Linked DNA regions of Homo sapiens: all the other regions are linked to region 2. Evidence: promoter capture Hi-C in human tissues and cell types (Jung and others, 2019). All regions are on one chromosome and are shown on one strand. Each heading gives the region's core, a stretch centred on a gene start or on the middle of the fragment in contact. The rest is flanking DNA. Distances are from core to core; before and after follow the strand shown. Region 1 overlaps XKR7 (XK related 7). Region 2 holds the start of BCL2L1 (BCL2 like 1). Region 3 overlaps HM13 (histocompatibility minor 13).

What was found. Contacts are between HindIII fragments. The study calls those that stand out against the background at their distance.
Region 1: a contact is called between a fragment that was not itself captured here and the fragment with the promoter of BCL2L1 in region 2, in 2 of the 25 tissues and cell types used here (dorsolateral prefrontal cortex and spleen).
Region 3: a fragment that was not itself captured here is called in contact with the fragment with the promoter of BCL2L1 in region 2 in 1 of the 25 tissues and cell types used here (spleen).

The regions. Positions count from the first base shown.
Region 1 is chr20:31,970,703-31,973,509 of GRCh38, reverse strand. All of the region lies in intron 1 of XKR7 (XK related 7), which reads right to left. Among named protein-coding and RNA genes, the nearest start is that of XKR7, 4.0 kb to the right of the region's middle. RefSeq lists enhancers at 433-932, 933-1,434 and a silencer at 1,050-1,344. The HindIII fragment of the contact is 4,685 bases long and covers 1-2,807 here.
Region 2 is chr20:31,721,604-31,724,364 of GRCh38, reverse strand. BCL2L1 (BCL2 like 1) reads left to right here and starts at 1,497. Exons shown (of 3, transcript NM_138578.3): 1 at 1,497-1,747; 2 at 2,017-2,710. The coding sequence starts at 2,147. RefSeq lists enhancers at 399-598, 368-1,122, 1,129-1,188, 1,123-1,878 and silencers at 629-1,078, 1,285-1,579, 1,479-1,588, 1,639-1,758. The HindIII fragment of the contact is 4,180 bases long and covers 1-2,761 here.
Region 3 is chr20:31,533,072-31,535,982 of GRCh38, reverse strand. All of the region lies in intron 2 of HM13 (histocompatibility minor 13), which reads right to left. Among named protein-coding and RNA genes, the nearest start is that of MCTS2, 13 kb to the left of the region's middle. The HindIII fragment of the contact is 6,554 bases long and covers 1-2,911 here.

The DNA.
Region 1 (2,807 bases), core at 248-2,747, 250 kb before region 2:
TTCATTTTTTTCCCCATAGCACTTATCACGATCTGGCCCAGGTATTATATATCCCATATAATATATATCATAGTTTATTTTCTTATTGGTTCCTTCATTAGGCTATTGAGCTCCAAGAGGGCAAGGACTTTGTCTTGTTCACCACTCTATTCCCAGCACTTAGAACAGTGCCTGGTATACAGCAGGTGCTTAATAAATGTCTGCTGAATGAATGACTGCAGATTAAATGAATGACTGCCATGTCATTATGGCTTCAAGGGACTTCAGGACCCCCTTGCTGTCCTGCCATGTGCTCCGTGAACAAAGCTTTGTTCCACAGGGAGCAAAGCCCAAGCTAATGCACTAATCATTGCCAGCAGTTTCTGAGCATTTAACGATGGAATGAGCCCTTTGCTGAACCCTTACACATTATCTCATTAAACCTTGAAACAACCTAAGAGGCGGGTGGGTACAATTTTGGTCCCTAGTTTACAACGGATGAGAGATTATTTGCCTTGTCAAGGTCACATATAAGAAGTAGTAAAGTCTGGATTTAAACTGAGGACACTTGAATCTAGAGTCCGTGCTCTCAACCCTCTCAACCGTTATGCCAAGAATGTAGTTTCCCAGAGGGGAAATCCAGAGCCTGACATTTCCTTCCAATAGGTCACTAACTCATTCCAGAACTTCTCTGTCATGCAGGGCTTCTTAGGTGACATAGAGTGCAGTGTCTGGGCCTATGCATAGAGAGGGCATTAGAGGGAGGGCCCCTAAATCCCAATTGCCTAATTTTCTCCCCATTTTGGGGTTCCCAGATCCCGAAAGCCTGGCAGGAATCCCATGTCAGATCGTCTCCCACTAATTGGCTTAGCAAACCATGCTTATCTGGGTGAAGCTGGGGCCCACTGAGCTCAAGATTAGGAAAAGCAGGATTCATGGCTTACTGCTCTGCTGCCTACAGGGTCAGAGGGGACAGGGTTAGGACTTTAATTAGCTTAAGAACCCTGGGCAGTTTAACAGCTCAGAGAGTTTAAAGGGAAGGGAGGGATGAAGTTGCAGGTTGGTGTCCAGGCCACAGCCAGCTTCGTGCCCCGCCAGAGGATCTGTTTGCTGTTCCCTCAGAGTTCAATCTCTCTGTGCACAAAGATATTGTTCTGGCATGTCCCAAAGTAGCCAGTGTGTGGTGTAAAAGATAGAGCTAGGTTTGGGACTGATCACCTTTCCTCACTTCCTCAGTGGGTGACTTTTGGACAAGGTTCCTTATCTGATAAATGGGTATATCAATAGTCACCAGGGGGGAGGGTTTCAGAGTAACATGAGATCACATGCCTGAAACACTCACACAGGGCCTGTGGGGACACGGTAGGTGTGCAGTGTCTGTGTATGCTTTCTCCTCCTCTCTCTCTTCAGAGCTTCATTTTATGTTTAAATTAGTAATAAAATCTTCTGTGTGAAAAGACCTTATCAATTTGAAGAGCTAAACCAGAGGTTACAAAGAAGACAGGCTAATAAATATGTTTCCTTTGGTTGACACTATTTTTAAACATTTTAATTAGTAGTTAAATTTTGGAGAGTTCACGGAAAAATCCCAATTTCCCATTTCTCTTGAGAAATCAAGACTGGGTCCACGATTTCTCATGGCATGATCAGCTGGAGCTTCCCTTTTCCTCGGACACTACTTGCCCCTGAATGTCCTCTTGTCTGACACCCCTTGTATCTTATGGTCTTATGGTCTGTTACCTGCCTGGGTCCTCAAAGCATTTGAATTTTTAATTCAGGATTTTACAAGTCTAAGAGGTTGAAAAATATCTTCATGATTATAATTATTTTATTCAGAATTGAGGAAATGGGATCAGGAGGTGAGTGACTGCCTAGCCTCCCAGGTGTGATTCTGGAGGACTCAATCACACATCTCCCTCTTCATTACCCCAGGCCCCACCACTCAGAACATCTGTGGGAACATCTCACGTGGTAAGCAAATGTGCTGGGCCAACATTGCTTAATTTCTAGGAATGCCAGCCCCTGCAGCTTCTCTATACCTTCTCTGGGTTTTCCCTCCATTTATCCAGGCCCTTAGCCATTTTAGAATCCAAAGATTTTGGGGGCAAGGGCCCAGAGGCTTTTGCTTTGGCAATAGACCCAGAGTCAGAATTTCAGGAATGGGAAACTCTTAAGGTCATCACATTGAATCTCATTTCACACACAGGGAAACCGAGACCCAAAGATGGAAAGAGCCTTGCCCAAGGTCACCCAGCAAACTATAGTTACAAACTAGGATAAAGATGTCAGCCTCCTGACCAGACCACCCCCGAATCCAGCCTTTTCCCCACAATACACACTGTTCCCGTCCTCACCCACATAGTTCAACTCCCTGCCCCTCTTTTCACATTCTTATCTCAGTGCAACAGAAGCCCTGACTTTCTATCATACTGGAATCTTGGAATCTCAGATTCATACTTCTTTAAGCTTGAGGGACACTTTAGTGGCAGAATTACAAGGTGGATAAATTGAACTCAGGCTTTAAAGGCAGAGAGCCTGGAGTCTCAGCTCTTCAAGTTCCTAGCTGTGTGACCTTGGACAAGGATGCCCCCTCTCTGAGCCTCCATTCCCTCATCTGTCAAGTAGAAATTATAATGCTAACCACATGACAGGATGATTAGAAGGGGTACAGGAAATAAAGCAGGTAAAAAGGCAACCAGTAGGCTTGGCACAAAGTCAGTGTTTAATAAAATAATTGTTATAGAACTGTAAATTAGGGCTTTCATGTCTAAGTGAAATAGTACAGATATGATCAAAGGGAAAGATGGACAAATTAGAGCACATAGACT
Region 2 (2,761 bases), core at 248-2,747:
CGCCCGGCCTGTCCTATGGAGTTTACAATTAATAACTCTCTTAATCATCACAATAGCTCAACGAGAGAGGTTGGTACTATTACCCATTTTACAATTGAGGACATTGAAGCACAGAGCAGTTGAGAAACTTGCCTAACTAGCAGAGTTAGAATCCAGACAAAGTGCTTAACCACAAGGCGATGCTTCTTCTATATATAAACTGACGGACGGATGAAATAGGCTGATTGACTGATGAGTGACTGACTGACTGACTGAATGAATAAATGGAAATGTGATTATAAATGTTGATTTTTTGCGCCTCCCGATTCCCCAGATCTACCGCGAGGGGGCGATCTCTCCCCGGTCCTGATGCCAGTCACTCAAGGCGCGCACTCCCTTTGCGTCTCGGGCTCGCGCGCGTTGCCGCGGCACCGGAAGTGACTGAGCTTGCAAGTTCCCCTGTCTCTTCAGGGGAAACTGAGGCCGGCTTGTTCGGGAGAGACGGCGCGAGCAGTCAGCCAGGTAGGCCGGCAGCCAGGTAGGCCGGCCCGGGTCCGCGGCGCGGAACTCGGCCGCGAAGAGCTCTTGCGTCTGGAAGCTACCGGGCCGATGAAGGGGGATGTGGCCCCCCACGGCTCGCGGGGCTCGCAGGTGAGAGCGCCGCCTCCCCTGTGCGTGACAGCCGTTGCGCCCAATAGGAGCCTTCGCCGTCCCGCTTCCGTGCCGGCTGGGCTCGCTGATTGGCTGCGCTGGGGCGGACCGCCGGGGGCGAGGCCCCTCCTCTCAGGAAGGTCTAGGGGGCGCCCCCGGGGGAGGGCGGTTGCCTAGCAACGGGGCGGTGGCTCGGCGGGTACCCGGCCTAGTGAGCTCGAGAAGCCGCTAGGCCGCAGCCGGCCCACCCTGGGCTCCGGAGAGGTGCAGCCCCCGGCCCCGGAGCCCTCCCGGGGGCGCCAGAAAGCCACTTTGGGCCTGTCCCCAGGAAAACGTGGTCTCAGCTGTGGGGCCGTCGAGCAGGCCTCGACCCCTCTTCCTGACCTGAGGAGAGGCCCAGCGCCTCACCCTCACCCAGTCTTTGTGCAGGGCGCCGGCGGCCATTGTGTCCGGGCGGGGAATGGAGGACCCGGCAATCCCCAACTGCCACGTTCTGGGCCTTTGGGGAATTCAGAGCAAACCAGCGGCATTTGTTGGGGGTCTCCGGCCTTCAACATCACAGACAGGCCTGGGGGTGGCCTTCCCAAAGTCAGATTGCAGATCTGAGGCAGTTTCCCCCTCCCTGCGTCCCTCACTGAAACCTTGAACCCCATTGAGAAGTCCCTTTAGGGTTTCGGACGCCTCCACCTCACCCTGGGCTGGTGCTTAAATAGAAAAAAGAAAAACAAAAACCAACTAAATCCATACCAGCCACCTCCGGGAGAGTACTCCTGGCTCCCAGTAGGAGGCGGAGAGCCAAGGGGCGTGCAAGAGAGAGGGGGCTGGGCTCCCGGGTGGCAGGAGGCCGCGGCTGCGGAGCGGCCGCCCTCGATCCGGGCGATGGAGGAGGAAGCAAGCGAGGGGGCTGGTTCCTGAGCTTCGCAATTCCTGTGTCGCCTTCTGGGCTCCCAGCCTGCCGGGTCGCATGATCCCTCCGGCCGGAGCTGGTTTTTTTGCCAGCCACCGCGAGGCCGGCTGAGTTACCGGCATCCCCGCAGCCACCTCCTCTCCCGACCTGTGATACAAAAGATCTTCCGGGGGCTGCACCTGCCTGCCTTTGCCTAAGGCGGATTTGAATGTAGGTGGTGCGGGGGAGCGGGAGTGGGGCGGGGGGGACTGCCCAGGGAGTGACTTTCCGAGGAAGGCATTTCGGAGAAGACGGGGGTAGAAAAGGCTGGTGGGAGATTCAGAGTCCACTGGTGCTTTCGATTTGACTTAAGTGAAGTATCTTGGAACCTAGACCCAGACCTTCGTAAGACCCACAAAGAAACCAGTTCTGGTACCTGGAGGGGGAATGGAATTTTTAGGGTAAATGGCATGCATATTAATTATTTTTTTTTCCTGAAGCTCTTTCTCTCCCTTCAGAATCTTATCTTGGCTTTGGATCTTAGAAGAGAATCACTAACCAGAGACGAGACTCAGTGAGTGAGCAGGTGTTTTGGACAATGGACTGGTTGAGCCCATCCCTATTATAAAAATGTCTCAGAGCAACCGGGAGCTGGTGGTTGACTTTCTCTCCTACAAGCTTTCCCAGAAAGGATACAGCTGGAGTCAGTTTAGTGATGTGGAAGAGAACAGGACTGAGGCCCCAGAAGGGACTGAATCGGAGATGGAGACCCCCAGTGCCATCAATGGCAACCCATCCTGGCACCTGGCAGACAGCCCCGCGGTGAATGGAGCCACTGGCCACAGCAGCAGTTTGGATGCCCGGGAGGTGATCCCCATGGCAGCAGTAAAGCAAGCGCTGAGGGAGGCAGGCGACGAGTTTGAACTGCGGTACCGGCGGGCATTCAGTGACCTGACATCCCAGCTCCACATCACCCCAGGGACAGCATATCAGAGCTTTGAACAGGTAGTGAATGAACTCTTCCGGGATGGGGTAAACTGGGGTCGCATTGTGGCCTTTTTCTCCTTCGGCGGGGCACTGTGCGTGGAAAGCGTAGACAAGGAGATGCAGGTATTGGTGAGTCGGATCGCAGCTTGGATGGCCACTTACCTGAATGACCACCTAGAGCCTTGGATCCAGGAGAACGGCGGCTGGGTAAGAACCAAGCCCCTTGTGTGTCCCTTTTCTTTGGCCTCTGGTCAGAGA
Region 3 (2,911 bases), core at 53-2,552, 190 kb after region 2:
TGAGCTAGGTCAATGCAGGTGCTGTTGTGGATAAGGGGCTTGGGCAGTTCACCTTGGGTGTAGGTTCACCCTGAGCTGGTTCTTCCATGCTTTCCTGGTGCTATGGACCTCGCCTTAACAGCACTTTGTACAGCTGTAACTTCACATCTATCTGTGTGATTGGTGTCTGTCTCTACCACTTAACAAGATGCTTCTTGAGGACAGGGATGGTCAGCTGTTTTTCTCACTTCAGTATCCCCAGTACCCAGCCAGGGCCTGATGTAGCAGGCTCTCAATAAATGCAGAATGACTGAATGGAAGGGCAAATTGGTGGTCCATGTTAGTGCTACAAGAAAAAGACCTATGAGCAGACTTTGTAGGCATATGGATTGTGCTTTATTTATGAAGATGTGGCATACCTCTCACATTGCATTCTTTCAGTCTGAGCCCTTGGGACAAATCACTCTCAGGCCACACCTCTGAGCTTCTTGTTGGTTTCACTGTGACCCATGTGGATTGGGCACCAGGTCTCACTTTCCTTTGTGTTTTGGCTGCTAAAAAGCCAGAGCCACAACTAAGCCCATTTCTAGCAAGAGTACAGGCTTTAGAGCATGGGGTATGGGTGTGGTCCTCACCCAAGCCTTGTTTTATCTTATTTTAATTTTCTCCTTTAACTCTATTTCTTCTGTTTTTCTTATGCTGTTGGATTTAATTTTTTGAGTTGCCTCAAAGGAATCAATTTTAAATAAGGTGGGATAAAGTAAATACTATGATTTTGTGAAATATTACTATATTGTGCAAATTTAAAACTTATTTTAAAAACTTACTTTACAGATGCCTCAACATCCCCACAAATAGGATATGAACATTCTGCCCAGGTTCTCCTTCTGGCCCTCCTCTTCTTCTTTTTTTTTTTTTGAGACGGAGTCTTGCTCTGTCACCAAGGCTGGAGTGCAGTGGCACGATCTTGGCTCACTGAAAACTGTGCCTCCCGGGTTCACGCCACTCTCCTGCCTCAGCCTCCTGAGTAGCTGGGACTACAGGCGCCTGCCACCACGCCCGGCTAATTTTTGTATTTTGTTTAGTAGAGACGGGGTATCACCATGTTACCAGGATGGTCTCGATCTCCTGACCACGTGATCTGCCCGCCTCGGCCTCCCAAAGTGCTGGGATTACAGGCGTGAGCCACTGCACCCGGCCCATTTCTTCTTTTTTTTCTTTCGAAACAGGGTCTCACTTTGTTGCCTAGGCTGGAGTGCAGTGGCCTGATTTTGGCTCACTGCAGCCTCGACCTCCAGGGTTCAAGTGATCCTCCTGCCTCAGCCCCCAAGTAGTTGGGACTACAGGTGTGTGCCACCACGCCTGGCTAATTTTTGTATTTTTTGTAGAGACAGGGTTTCACCATGTTGGCCAGGCTGATCTTTAACTCCTGGGCTCAAACGATCTGCTGCCTTGGCCTCCCAAAGTGCTGGGATTACAGGCGTGAGCCACGGTGCCCAGCCTCTGGTCTTCTTCTTCTATGACCTAATACCATTCAAACACATGGTAAATCCCCTCATGCCCTTTGCTTGTACTACCCTGAGCCCTAACAAAGGCACTTGCCCAGGGGTCCTCCCCTCTCCTTCCTTCCTTCTGTCCTCTCCCCCTTCTCCCTACCTGCTTGGTTGAGTGGCTTCCTTGGAGCTCCTCCCATATGGCCCCCTGTGTGGCATGCATGCCTCCTTCTCTAGAACATGTGAGTATAGTAAATCCTGTAATTTCATAAGCCTCTCTGAGCATAGTTTCTGTGGCTGTGTGCGAGTGATCCTTAAAGACTTCATAAAGTGGGCTGGGTGCAGTGGCTTGCGCCTGTAATCCCAGCACTTTAGGAGGCCAAGGCGGGAGGATTGCATGAGGCCAGGAGTTCAAGAAGCATAGGCAACATGGCAAGACCCCATCTCTACAAAATAAAAAAAAATTAGGCGGGCGTGGTGGTGCATGCCTGTAGTCCCAGCTACCCAGGGGGCTGAGGTGGGAAGATTAACTGAGCCTGGGAGTTTAAAGTTATTGTGAACTACAATCGCACCACTGCACTCCAGCCTGGGTGAAAGAGTAAGACCCTGCCTGTAAAAACAAGGACAAAAAAACCTCACAAGGGGAACATCTTTTTTACAACACAATTGGTGATGAGGATGGGATCATTCTAAACTCAGTGTGAAAGTCCTTGAGAGAGAGGCATATGAAATGAAAGGATTTATTATACTCACAGGTCCTACAGAAGGAGACCCACGGCCAAGTGCCTTCTTTGGGGCTCAGGGTGAAAGACACAAGCAAAAGGGGATCTCACTGATGTGTCTGAATGTCACTAGGTCAGAGTAGAGGAGGGCAAGAAAGGGAACTTGTCGCAGGGACCAGCCTTATCACACTGGCACCTGTTCACCTGGGCAAAGTGTTCATGGCCTATTTGTGGGATGTTGAGGCATCAGGAAAATATGAAGTTTTTTTGTTGTTGTTTTTTTTGAGACGAAGTCTCACTCTGTCACCCAGGCTGGAGTGCAGTGGCATGTTCTCGGCTCACCACAACCTCTGCCTCCTGGGTTCAAGCGATTCTCCTGCCTCAGCCTCCCAAGTAGCTGGGACTACAGGCATGGGCCACCACGCTCGGTTAACTTTTTTGTATTTTTAGTAGAGACGGGGTTTTACCATGTTGGCTAGGCTGGTCTTGATCTCCTGACCTCAGGTGATCTGCCCGCCTCGGCCTCCCAAAGCGTTGGGATTACAGGCGTGAGCCACTACACTCAGCCCTGAAGTTTTAAAAATGTTCAATGCAGTTACAAACTCCAGTGCCCCAACCAGGAGGAGGGGAGGAAAAGGGCTGAGGGAGAGCCGCTGTGGTGGGCTGTTTTTCTGTTAAGCAAACCAACCAGCCAGATGTCAGGGGGGAGGCCAGGAG